Linked DNA regions of Homo sapiens: region 1 is linked to region 2. Evidence: promoter capture Hi-C in human tissues and cell types (Jung and others, 2019). All regions are on one chromosome and are shown on one strand. The core of a region is centred on a gene start or on the middle of the fragment in contact, and the rest is flanking DNA. Distances in the headings are between cores, read along the strand shown.

The links. Contacts are between HindIII fragments. The study calls those that stand out against the background at their distance.
Region 1: a contact is called between a fragment that was not itself captured here and the fragment with the promoter of GLT6D1 in region 2, in 1 of the 25 tissues and cell types used here (dorsolateral prefrontal cortex).

Annotation. Positions count from the first base shown.
Region 1 is chr9:134,629,975-134,636,564 of GRCh38, forward strand. No RefSeq gene overlaps it. Among named protein-coding and RNA genes, the nearest start is that of COL5A1, 8.5 kb to the right of the region's middle. The HindIII fragment of the contact is 7,228 bases long and covers 1-6,128 here.
Region 2 is chr9:135,634,253-135,641,084 of GRCh38, forward strand. GLT6D1 (glycosyltransferase 6 domain containing 1) reads right to left here and starts at 5,288. Exons shown (of 5, transcript NM_182974.3): 1 at 5,041-5,288; 2 at 4,865-4,941. The coding sequence starts at 4,935. The HindIII fragment of the contact is 10,839 bases long and covers 723-6,832 here.

The DNA.
Region 1 (6,590 bases), core at 1,265-3,764, 1.0 Mb before region 2:
CCCCTGCTGGCGCTGTCCCAGCCCTTCCAGGTGCCCCATGCTGTGGGCCTGCCCACTGAGCCCTGAGCTCAGAAGTCTGTGTGGGTGAGTCCTGTGGCCACCACAGGATGGAAGGAGCACAACCTCGAAGGCTAGAGACGGATCTCTTCCCTCAGCGCTGGAGCCTGGAGTCCGCAGCCAGGGCGTCGGCAGGGCTGCACCCCCAGAGGCTCCAGGGGAGCACCCTCCTGCCTTCTCCAGCTCTGGGGGCTCAGGTGCTCCTTGGCTTGTGGCCGCCATGCTCCAGACTCCACCTCTGTCTTCACATGGGTTTTCTCTTGGCTTTTAATCTCCTCTGCATCTCTCTTATAAGGACACTGGGGGTGGTGATTGGGGCCCATGAGGCAAACGCAGGAGGATGGCCTCATTTACAGTCCTTAACCTAATTGCACCTGCACAGACCCTTTTTCCAAATAAGATCATATCCAGGGGTTCGGGGCGTGAGTGTGGGCCTCTCTTCAGGAGCCACTCTTGGCCTGCCGCAGCCGAGCTTCCCTGCCCACGCTCCTGTCCCGTGCCCCCGCCAGGCCCTGGGCGTCTGATCAGCCCTGTTTTTGCTGGAAGGTGGAAGTGAAAGAGACGGCGCCCTGGAGGAATGGGCTGGGAGGGGGTCCTGGCTCCTTCACCTGGGCGCTGTGGCCCTCAGCCTGCTTCTAGGGTCCTGAGCCTGAGTGTTCACCTCCTGTGTGGACTCTTCCTCTGTCTCCTCCTGCTGCTTCTCTGTGGCCCGAGAACCCTCCCGGAGGCTCAGCTTGTGGACCAGGCTCAAAGACTTTGAGGGTGGAATACATATGGCTTCTGGGTTCGACTCCAGTTTGAGAGTCATTTTAAATTCTATATCCGTTTTCACTTCCTCTTATGGAAGAAAATCTAATCTGGGAGGTATTTCCATTAAAAACATTGGTTTAATACTAAAAATGAAAACAAATAAAACTAGAGCCTGCTGGAAAAAATAACAGCCCCAGACGGCGTGCATCTCACATGAGCACTGCGCCACCGCACGCAGCCTCTGACCAAGCTCCCCACGTGTTCTTGCCAGCTTGAAGCCTCCTGTTGGAGACAGGTTTCTGCCCCCAACACCCAGGTGCACAGCAGGCACCATTTACCCCCCATTGCTCCAAACCATGGCTGTCTCCACCCCACTGTCTTCTCAGCCTCCAAAGCTGGAGAGCACAGGAAGACGTGGGGTACAGAGGCCTCTTTTATTGTGTCCTGGAATGTAGTGCATTGCGATGGTTAATATTGAGTGTCAACTGGATTGGATTGAAGGATGCAAAGTACTGTTCCTGGGCGTGTCTGTGGGGGTGTTGCCAAAGGAGATTCACAGTTGAGTCGGTGGACGGGGAGAGGCAGACCCACCCTCAATCCAGGTGGACAGCATCTAATCAGCTGCCAGCATGGCCAGGAGAAAGTAGGGAGAAGAACATGGAAGGAAAAGTCTGGTTGAGTCTTCTGGCCTCCATCTTTCCCCCATGCTGGATGCTTCCTGCCCTTGAACATTAGACTCCAAGTTCTTCAGCTTTTGGACTCTTGGATTTACACCAGTGATTTGCCAGGGGCTCTTGAGCCTTCGGCCACAGACTGAAGGCTGCATTGTGGGCTTCCCTACTTTTGAGGTTTTGGGACTCACACTGGCTTCCTGGCTCCTTAGCTTGCAGATGGCCTATGGTGGGACTTCACCTTGTGATCGCGTGAGTCAATTCTCCTTAATAAAATCCCCTTCATATGTACAGCTACCCTATTAGTGCTGTCCCTCTAGGGAACTCTGACTAATACGGGGTGGAAAGTGGCTCCCAAAATATACTCCCATGTCCCAGACCCCAAACCTGTGAAGATGGACTTATTTGAAAAAAGGTCCGTGCAGATGCAATCAGCTTAAGGACCTGAGATGAATGAGGACATCCTCCTGGATTAGCCAGGCTGGCCTGGCCCTAAATACCATCCCAGGTGTCCTTGTAAGATGGAGGCAGAGGAGGCCAAAACAACAGCATGCCCTGAAGACAGGTGGTGTGAAACGAAGGTAGAGATTGGAGCCACGCAAGGAAGGCCTGGAGCCGCCAGGACCGGAGCAGGCAGGGAGGAGCCTCTGAGGCACGTGACCCTGCAACATCTAGGTCTCGAGCCTCCAGAACCGGGAGAGAAACATTTCTGCTGTTTTAAGCCTCGCTGTTTGTGGTATTTTCTTATGGCAGCTCCAGGACTCCGAGGCAAGGACCATAATGAAGTTGGCGTGGCTCAAGGACTAGAATTTTTAACAAATGAAGCTTGGCTGTTTCAGCCAATGAGCAGGGCATCCTTGTCCCGCCTGAACACTGCCCTGAGAGGCAGAGGGTGTGCTCGCATGACGTCAAACAGCCTCAGGCCTTACCCCAGATGAGCGGCCGTGTATTCTCAGGGTCTGCCCGGGGGCCAGGATGCATGTAAATATGCATCCCACAGTGAAGCCCAAAAGTCATGGTGAGCTCCCTGCACTTGGGGGACCCTGTTCAAATTGCAGAATGACTTTCCCAAAGCCATGTAACACCCCAGGTCTTCAGTGTCTGTCGGCTCCCACCGCATGGCCATGGTGAGGGGATGGATGAGACAGTGAATCCATGAAACCTCTTAGCACCCGGCTCAGGAAGGGGGTCCCCAAGGCCCCATGGATGGGGATTTTTGATGAGGCTTGACGTAAGTGGGCCAGGAAGTATGGTTAGGGTGTGTGTAACCAGCAGGCAGCCCTGCCTCTCTGAGGGAAGAACGCGCCATCTGAATCTCATAGGTCACTCGCAGGGGCTCTTGCCAGACCCGGGCAGATGCGCTGGTTTCCTACCTGAGACAAATCAGTCCTATCTCAAGGCCTCAGTTTCTTTATCTGTGAAATGGGAACTGCGGCCTTTGCCTCCCTCACAGGGAAGTTAGTGCCAAGGGCCAGGAGAATGGGGGGTGGGTGGTTGCCATGTGTGAGACCATGAGAAGGAGGTGATGGTATGGAAAACAATATCCGAGAGAGGTTCCTGGATAGACTCTGTTTTCTGCTCCCTGTGGGAGGCCCTGCACAGGGTCCTGAGTGATGGGGTCCATGGTTCCCATGTGATATGGTTTGGCTCTGTGTCCCACCCAAGTCTCACCTTGAATTGTAGTAATCCCCACACGTCAAGGGCGGGACCAGGTGGAGGTCATTGAATCATAAGCGTGGTTTCCCCCATGCTGTCGTTTTGATAGTGAGTGAGTTATCGCAAAATCTGATGGTTTTATAAGGGGCTTCCCCGCTTTGCCCAGCACACATTCTCTCTCCTTCTGCTCTGTGAAGTGGTGCCTTCTGCCATGATTGTAAGTTTCCTGAAGCCTCCCCAGCCATGCGGAACTGTGCGTCAATGAAACCCCTTTTCTTTATAAATTACCCAGTCTCGGATATGTCTTCATAGCAGTGTGGGAACAGACTGATACACCACGTCTGGGAACAGGCAGGGCCACAGTGCCTACCTCGCGGGGGCCTGGCCAGAGGTGCACTCTGCAGCTGACAGTGTCCAAGGCAAAGGCCTTCAAATGATGAGAGGCACAGCCTGGGCGGGGTCCTGGGCACCGCTGCCCTTGCTGCTGGCGAGTCCCAGCCGATTCCTCCTCCACCGTGTACTGGAAGGCATCCCACCCGTCTCCCCTCTCCCTGGAAACCATAGCTGCCTCTGACTTGAGCCCCACCTCTTGTTCCTCTAAGCAATCCTCAACACTGAAGTCAGAGATCTTTCCAGGATGCAAGTATGACATAGCCTTCTCCTCTTAAAACCCTCTACGCATCCCCATTCTCCTTGGGAAGAATACAAACTCCCTGCCTAGACTGACTTGCCCTGTGCCAGCCACCCCGCTCTCCTGTCCCTGTGCCAGCCGCTCCACCCTCCTGTCTCCAGCCCCTCAGCCCCCAGGCCACCTCCTCCCTGTTCCATCACAGCCTCCTTGGAGTGGCCTTCTGTGGCTTCCTCTGGGCCTGGGCATGTGCATTCCCTCTGCAGGGGGAGAAGAGTCCAGGATGGCATCAGTGAGGGGTGGCACCTGGCCCCAAGATGCCCCTCCTCCTCTTGTATCCTTTTGGGACGTGCTCCCACAAGCGTCCCTACTTCTTGAACCCCTGGGCCCTGAACCTGGGCCCTGCTGACCCCTGTCTGCAGGGAGAAGTGTCTAGGAGGACAGTGTTTATGTCAGGGTCCTTGGTAGCTGACTCTGAGGCTCTGGGTTTTCTAGGCGGACTCTGGAAACAAGGCCTGTGGGGGCGAGGGCAGCAAGCCGGGGCGCAGGTGCATGCATTCTGCAGAGGCCTCATGGAGCCCCCCGACCGCAGGACTCGGAAGCAGGGACGGCCCTTCTGAGTTGTCCCACATTCAGGAAAAGGGACAGGATCTGGAACCTTCTTCCTGACCGGTCCTTGGGTGTGGGCTGCCCTTGAGCAGGGATGGGGTCTAACCTCCAGTAAAAGGTAGTTTAGGCAAGGAACTCAGCTGTTGGCTGTCAGCAAACCATGCTCTTGACAGAGGCCAGGGGAGTCTGGGCCCTGAGGGGGTCTGGGCCAACCCCCCTCCACAGTGTGGAGCACTGGCTCCTGACTTTTTGAGAAAGCCTTCAGCTAACAGGCATTTCTGCTGGTACCACTGCCTTATGCTCGTGGCGTCCTGGAGCGTCGCTGGGGCAGTTGGTCATGGAAAGAGCTCTGTGCCCAGATGGGGTGGGGCTGTCTCCAATTCCTACACCTCCGAGTTAAGTGGTTTCACCCTCTGAGACTCTGTTTCCCCAGTCGATCATGAAGCTGCCGGAAGCAGGACGGATGGAGCCTTTTCTGAGCCTGTGCTCTGTGCCCGGCACAGTCTGTGTGTTATCTCGGATAACCTCCACAGCATCCTATGCAGGGGTGCACTGCGGTCCCCACTTTCCAGAGGAGAACCTGAGCCAGCGTGGGGAGGCTGCAGCCTCAGGCCCCTTGCTGAGGCAGACTCATATCCAGGACGCCGCTTGCTCCAGATTCTGAGGTCATGCCTGCCCTCACCTTCGTCGGATGGTGGGAAAGCTTCAGTGAGATCCCTAGGTGGGGAATCGTCACAGACACCCTCAAAAGCTGTTTCACCAGGGTGATCTTGTTGACTCCCGGGGAACAGCCCATTGAGTGGGAGGCATCTCTTTCCACCTATGCAGATGGTTCTTTAAAAGATTTAATAGCGGGGACCTTTCCAACTGACATTTCTTTTGGGCTGTAAACTCAACCTTTATCTCTAATATATTCTCCTGGAGGATGACACGCCAATCCAGGCCCAGTTTGGAAATGTGCCTTGGCACACTGTGGCCCGAATTAATTGCGAACTCACTCTATATATCTAAAGTCTGTTTGGTGTTCGTCATGGGCTCTCTCGCCTGGAAATTCCATTATTTTGCAGGGTTTACTTGGCACCTGATGGGATATCCAGGTCCAGTAAAACCAGGCCTTCGTGGACATGACATGGAAACAGAGCTGTGCCGCACAGCGGAGCGGGGCCAGTGAGATGGGAGGGCCAGTGAGATGGGAGGGCCAGGCGCAGCCAAGGGACAGCCAGGCTGTTTCAGCCATCGATGTCACGGCTCCATCCCTTGGTGATTTATGCTGCTCTGTCCCTGGGCTTGAAGGAGGGGCAGCCCCTCAGCTGCTGAGAGCCCTGCTTCCTGGCCCTCCATCAGACCATGATAAAGAGCATGAGCCGCCATGCTTGAGAAGCCGCCATGATGAAAAGCGCCTCCAACCTCCAGCTGCGTGTATATGTTTGATCAGATGCCAGGGCCAGCTGTGTCTGGTCCTGCTTGTGTGGCTTGATAAATTGGGCTGGGGGTCCTGGCACCGTGGTGTCCCGGGATGGGAGCTCTGGGAGGAGAACAGCTCCTCTGCTGGACTCTGGGTTGGGGAAGGCTGAGGGTTGGGGAAGAGGAAGAGGCTTCAGCTTCACAAAGTGGTAGAAGTTCAGGTGCGGGGGAAGGGCTTCAAGTAAACCACTGAGTCAGCGGATTGCATTTTCAATGGAATCATGGGGCCTGGAGTTCACTGGACCACAGCCTGCCTGGGTTCTTCCCAGCTCACTCCTCTCACCCCCTCTCACCCCCTCCCACCCACTCCTACCCCCTCTCACCCTCTCTCACCCCCTCCCACCCCCTCTCACCCACATCTAGATGGAGCACAGGCTGCAGGCTTGGACTGGGGAGACTGGGGTCAGACCCACGGCTGCTTCTCCGGAAGCAGAGGTATACACAGATGTGACTACACAGTGTCCCAAGGCCTGTGCCCCCACCTACCATGCTTGACTGTGTGCCCCAAGCCACACCTGCTTCTGTGCCCACCTGCTCCAGTGCACACCTGCCCCATGCACACCTGCTCCAATACACACCTGCCCCTGTGCACCACTGCTCCCATGCACACCTGCTCCCAGACACATCTGTCCCAAAGACTGACTTATTCACATGCACACCTTCATATCCAGAACAGAATGTGCTCCTAACAGGCAGCATGGGCAGGGGCACCTCACTCACAGAAAGGGGAGGGCAATTTGCTGTGGGGAGGGAAG
Region 2 (6,832 bases), core at 4,038-6,537:
CAAGTAGCTGAGATTACAGGTGCCCACCACCATACCCTGCTAATTCTGGTGTTTTTAGAAGAGACAGGATTTTGCCATGTCAGCCAGCTGGTCTCCAACTCCTGACCTCAAGTGATCCGCCCGCCTCTGCCTCCCAAAGTGCTGGAATTACAGGCGTAAGCCACCATGCCTGGCCTTGTTTTTCCTTTCCTTTTTTTTTTTTTTTTTTTTTTGGCATGATTTATTTTTACTTTATTTCCCCTTTTTTGTTTCAATCAACTTTATTTTTAGAGAAGATTCAGCTTTACAAAAACGTTCTAAAGCTAGTATGCGGAATCCCCTGCACCAACCCAGTTTTTCCTATTATTAACATCTAGCTTTAGTAGGGTACTTTTGTTCCAATTCATGAAGCAACACTGATGCTGTATTGTTAACGAGAGTCCATACTTTGGTTGGATTTTCTTGTTTTCCCCTAATGTCTCTTTTTTTTTCAGGATCCCACCCAGCATGCCACACTCCACTCAGCCTCCTGTCTGGATCCCACCCAGCACGCCACACTCCACTCAGCCTCCTGTCTGCACAGGATCCTCTTGACTGCAGCCGCCTCTCAGACCCCATCATGACTTCCTATTGATGCTGACCTTGTTCACCTGGCTAGGGTTCTGTTTTCGGGCTTCTCCACGCAAAGACTGCTCTTTCTCCCCGTTTTCTTTATAAGAAAGCGCTGCGCGCAACCCAAACTTCAGGACTGGGGCGTCAGGTTCTGTGTCGTTGGTAGTGGAGAATCTACAGACATGATTTGGAATTCTTCTGCATATGGGAGATTTGTCTCTTCTCCCTTCTTCCTTCCTTCTATCCTTCCAACATCCAGCCAACCTGTCTTCCTTCCTTTCTTCCTTCTTTTTGCTCCTCCAATCATTCATTTACATCAGTATGAACTTGTGGAAGTTCGTTTCATACTTTGGGTTATAATTCAATGTTACTTTCTTTTCTTGCTCAAAAGGCTTCAGCTTTGGCCATCGGGAGCTCTCCCAGTTAGCTCCCATGTCCCATTTAAGTGACATACTCCCTTCAATATAGAATTTGTAAAAAAAATCCCTTCCATCCCTCCTGGCACTATGAGATGCTCTGGGCTCATCTTGTAAATCTCCTGTCCGAATCTAGAACCATCCACTTCTCCAAGAAGCCTTGGTCGCTTTCCTGGAGAATGGTGCCAGAAACCAAGATCTGTTGCTTTCCTGGAGAATGGTGCTAGAAACTAAGGTCTGCTGCTTTCCTGGAGAATGGTGCTAGAAACAAGATCTGTTGCTTTCCTGGAGAATGGTGCTAGAAACCAAGATCTGTTGCTTTCCTGGAGAATGGTGCTAGAAACCACGATCTGCTGCTTTCCTGGAGAATGGTGCTAGAAGCCAAGATCTGGGTACCAGGTGTGCTCATTGCTTCCAGGGTGTCCTTCCTCCGAGGCCCTCTCAGCTAACAGAGCAAGGAAATAGACACTAACCTGTGCGTATTTCCACATATCTTTAAACACGTTGACACGTAAATGTCTCTGTTCATAGTAAGGTAAACGTGAGTTCACGCTGAGGTCTCCAGCTTCAATCCATTCCCACGTGGATCACTGTGGCCCCCTCTCTTGCTTAACTATGAAGTTCCCTCCAACAGCAAGAAACTTGCTCCCCCATGCCTCATCCATTTATTTAATTGATTCAAATATACATGTATAGCAGCAGCAGAATTGTTAACTCATATTCCTGTGGGAAAAAACCTTTATTGACCCAAATACATGTACAGTGCTCATGTACAGTTTCTATTGCCTTTACTTTCAAACTCCACTCATACCCAGCTGGGCACTGTGGCTCACACCTGTAATCCCAGAATTTTGGGAGGCTGTGGCAGGCGGATCACCTGAGGTCAGGAGTTTGAGACCAGCCTGGCCAACATGGTGAAACCCCATATCTACTAAAAATAAAAAATTAGCCATGCCTGGTGGCATGTGCCTGTAGTCCCAGCTACTAGGGAGGCTGAGGCAGGAGAATCGCTTGAACCAAGGAGGCAGAAGTTGTGGTGAGTTGAGATCGCTCTACTGCACTCCAGTCAGGGTGACAGAGTGAGACTCTGTCTCAAAACAAAACAAAACAAAAAAAACTCCACTCATTCCTAAGTTATTTTAGGTCAGCAGCTTTTTCCCTGACCCCTTCCAGTGGGATTGTTCTGTACATTTGGGATATAGATTATGTTCTCACAGTCTGCATTGCTTCCTAGGATACCTCGAACCTCCTAGCTAATTTTTTAAATTTACATATGTTAATTTCACTCTTCGTGCTGTAACGTCCTGTGGGTTTTTTTTCAAATGCAAAGTTACATGTGTCCATGGTTACACTGTCATACAGAACAGTTTCACTGCCCCCCAAAATTCCTTTGTGCTTCACCTATTCATCCCCTCCCTCACCTCCACCCCATGGCAACCACTGATCTTTTTCCTGCCAATATAGTTTTGCCTTTTCCAGAATGTCACATGAGAATTATACAGCACGCAGCCTTTTCAGATGGGCTTTTTGCACTCAGCAATATGCATTTAGGGTTCCTCCATGTCTTCTAACAGCTTGATAGCTGATTTCTTTTTTTTCTTTTTTTTGGGGGGATGGAGTTTCACTCTTGTTGCCCAAGCTGGAGTGCGATGGCGTGATCTCAGCTCACCGCAACCTCTGCCTCCCAGGTTCAAGTGATTCATCTGCCTCAGCCTCCTGAGTAGCTGGGATTACAGGCATGCACCACCATGCCCAGGTAATTTTGTATTTATAGTAGAGATGGGGTTTCTCCATGTTGGTCAGGCTGGTCTCGAACTCCCGGCCTCAGGTGATCCACCTTCCTCAGCTTCCCAAAGTGCTGGGATTACAGGCATGAGCCACCGTGCCCGGCCAGCTCATTTCTTTTTACTGTTGGGTGTTATTCCGTTGCACAGATGAGCCACAGCATGTTTATCCTTCTCCTATTGAAAGTCGTCTTGTTCGTTTCTGGTTTTGAGCACTTCATGAACCACAGCTTGTTTATCATCCACCTGCTGAAGGGCATCTAGTATGTTAGTGGTTTGAGGCATTTATGAATAGAGTTTCTATAAACATCTTGTGCAGGGTTTGTGTGGACATAAGTGTTTTAATCAGTTGGCTACATGCCTAGGAGCACAGTTGCTCTGTGGCATGATAAGGCTCTATCTAGCTTTCTAAGGAACTGCTACACTGTCTTCCACAGTACCTGTAACATTTTGCATTCCCACCAGCAATGAATGAGAGTTCCTGTCCTTCCACTTCCTCACCAGAAGCTGGTTTTCAGATTTTAGATTTTTGGGTGTTAGCCGTTCTAATGGGTGTGTAGTGGTATCTCCTTGTTTTCGTTGCAATTTCCTGATGACAAATGAGACTGAGCATCTTGGCGTTCGCTTATTTCCCATCTGTATATCTTCTCTTGTGAGATTCTATTCAGTTCTTTTGCTCATTTTTAAATGTTTTAAATGTCAATATTTAATTTTTAAATTTAGGTGTTTGTTTCCTTATTGTTGAATTTTAAGAGCTCTTTGCATATTTTGGGTACAAGTCCCTTACCAGATACATGTTGTGCAAAGCTTTCATTTTTAAAAACTATTATCTGTCATGATACTACTGCTGTTCAAATAGCCTCTGGAAACACTGCATTGCTTATGAAGAAGACCATGAGGAGTGGTATGGAGAAAGCTAGAATTTGAGTTTTTCTAGACGGGAAAATATTAGCAGGTGTATTAGTCTGTTTTCACGCTGCTGATAAAGACATACCCAAGACTGGGAAGAAAAAGAGGTTTAATTGGACTTACAGTTCCACATGGCTGGGGAGGCCTCAGAATCATGGCAGGAGGCAAAAGGCATGTCTTCCATGGCAGCGGCAAGAGAAAATGAGAAAGACGGAAAAGTGGAAACCCCTGATAAACCCATCAGATCTCATGAGACGTATTCACTATCATGAGAATAGCATGGGAAAGACCAGCCCCCATGATTCAATTACCTCCCCCGGGTCCCTCCCACAACACGTGGGAATTCTGGGAGATACAATTCAAGTTGAGATTTGGGTGGGGAAAGAGCCAAACCATACCAGCAGGTTTACAGATGCGTCCTCTAGTACACATGCTTCTATATGCATAGAATTAGGTTGACTTTAGTCTTGTTTACATTAAACACAAAGATGGAACCTTTAGTATTATTTATATTAAACACAAAGATGGAAACTTGAGATAGTTTATAATTCATCTAAAATGGCATTGTCACCTTTATTTTTTATTATGCTTGTTTTATAAAATATTATATCCCTGGCATTGTCTTTTATGTGTATTTATTGTCTACCTTCTCCAAATAGAATGAAAGCTCCCTGAGGACAGGCACTTTCATTATCACTGCATCCCCAGCACCTAGAATACAGCCTGGCACCTAGAAGGCACTCTGTAAATAATTGTTGAATGTTTAACAATGAAATAATTAAAATATGTATATTTTCCTTTGTCCCACAAAGAGAAAGTAACTTCTGATTTATTTAGAGAGTAGTATTGATATCTTTGGACAAAACTCAGCAGTTTAGATTATCTCTGCCAGCCTGGACAACATAAGTCTCTACAAAAAAAATTCAAAAATCAGTTGTTTGTGGTGACATGTGCCTGTAGTCCCAGCTACTCAGGAGGCTGAGGTGGGAGGATCACTTGAGCCTGGGAGGTCAAGGCTGCAGTGAGCTAATATGGCACCACTGCACTCCAGCCTGGGCAACAGAGTAAGACCCTGTCTCAAAAATTAAATTAATTAATTTAATTAAATTAAAACCACCTCTGCCAATCACTAAAGATCATGATTTATCAATACTTTATATTTACCTGAAATAACGCTCAACCAACATCAGTGAAAAAGCAAATAAAACCAATAACAGCATTCTTTTAGAATTCATTCTCTCCTAGGGAAAGAAGGAGAAAAAATTAGATTTTAAGCAATAAAAAATGACATATTTGTCATCATCTAACAATGGGTTAATGTATGGGCATTGGACACCAACCTTAGAGGTTGCTTCTAGAATGTTCAGCTGGCAGGAGACAGCGACTTGAGTTAGGGAAGCCTCTGTTCTCCTTCAAGTGCCCGGGGCTGACTGTTCCCCGTGGGTCAGCTGCACGTGCACTGTCTCTCCCCGTGTTCACATCAAAGTCTGCGTTGATTGCATGAAAGAAACGCAATAAATCTCTCCACTGCAGGGCTGTGCAAATAGAATGAGGTCTTGATGAGGAAGTCTTCTTGATCTAGGAGAATGTATTCTGCCCCCGAAGTCGACTTTTTATTCTTTCTTCCTCACTAAGATAGTAAGATGAATAATTTGTTCCAAGACTATGCCAGTCTAAAAATTTACAAGTGCTCTCAAAGGTAGATCTTGTAAACGGAGAATGAAGTCTACATTAAAGGCATTAGACTTTACAATGGAAGTCTGGACTCTCACCAGTGCCTGAGCTTGTGTTGGAGGCTTCACGTGGGATTTGGTTTACAAGCCCATAGGGAACACGCCACTGCGCTGTGTGTCCACACAAAATGCAGGTCTCTGATTCTCTGATTTTCACTTTTTTTTTTTTTTTTTTTGAGATGGAGTCTCATTCTGTCTGCCAGGCTGGAGTGCAGTGGCACAATCTTGGCTCACTGCAACCTCCGCCTCCTGGGTTCAAACAGTTCTCCTGCCTCAGCCACCACATCCAGCTAATTTTTGTATTTTTAGTGGAGACGGGGTTTCATCATGTTGGCCAGGCTGGTCTCAAACTGCTGACCTCAGGTGATCCGCCCACCTCAGCCTTCCAGTGATTTTCAATTTTGAACACTCATTTAACAAACATGACACTTTAGCTCTGCACTGATAGCCATAGAGTAGCCACTTGCCACATGTGGTCCCGAGTGTGTGAAATGCAGCTGCTGTGAAATGAGGTGAGCTGCAAGTGTACAAAACACATGGGGTCTCAAAGTCAAACACAGTGCGAAAGAAAATAATTTACCATCTCACTCATAACTTCACATCGATCACAGGTGAAACGGTAACAGTCTGGGTGTCATAGTCTGGAAAGAATGAGTTAAATGAGAAATAAATTATGAAAATTAATTCACCTGTTTCTTCTTACTGTTTGTAATGTGGCTACTAGGAAACCGGACATTGATAATGTGGCTCACAGGCTGGGCGTGGTGGCTCACACCTGTAATCCCAGCACTTTGGGAGGTCGAAGGGGGAGGATCACGAGGTCAGGAGTTCAAGACCAGCAGGACCAACATGGTGAGACCCCCGTCTCTACTAAAAATACAAAAATTAGCCAGGTGTGGTGGCTCACGCCTGTAATCCCAGCTACTCAGGAGGCTGAGGCAGCAGAATCGCTTGAACCCAAGAGGCGGAGGTTGCAGTGAGCCAAGATCGCACCACTGCACTCCAGCCTGGGTGACAGAGCAAGACTCCATCTAAAAAAAAAAAGAAAAAAAGGAGAGAAAGAAAGAAAATGTGGCTCACATTATATTTCTATGGGGCAGTTCTTCATATAATCCCTTCCTGGGCAGGCTTCGGTTGGGCCCAGTTCTTGTACCTCTGCAATTGGAAACTGACCACCTTTTAAGTTCAAGATCACTAGAAATGCCATGTGGATGGGGTAAGACAGGCCCATCTAGCCAGGTTCTCTACAGCAGTGTGCCCTCCTCCATGACATCATCCCTGGGCATGCTACTAGCTGTATGTTGATGAGCTGCCTGTCTGTCAATATCTTTCTGAGGTCAAGGTTAGAGGATGACCCAAACCCTGATTTTACCACAATCATCCAAACTTTCCTAGATCC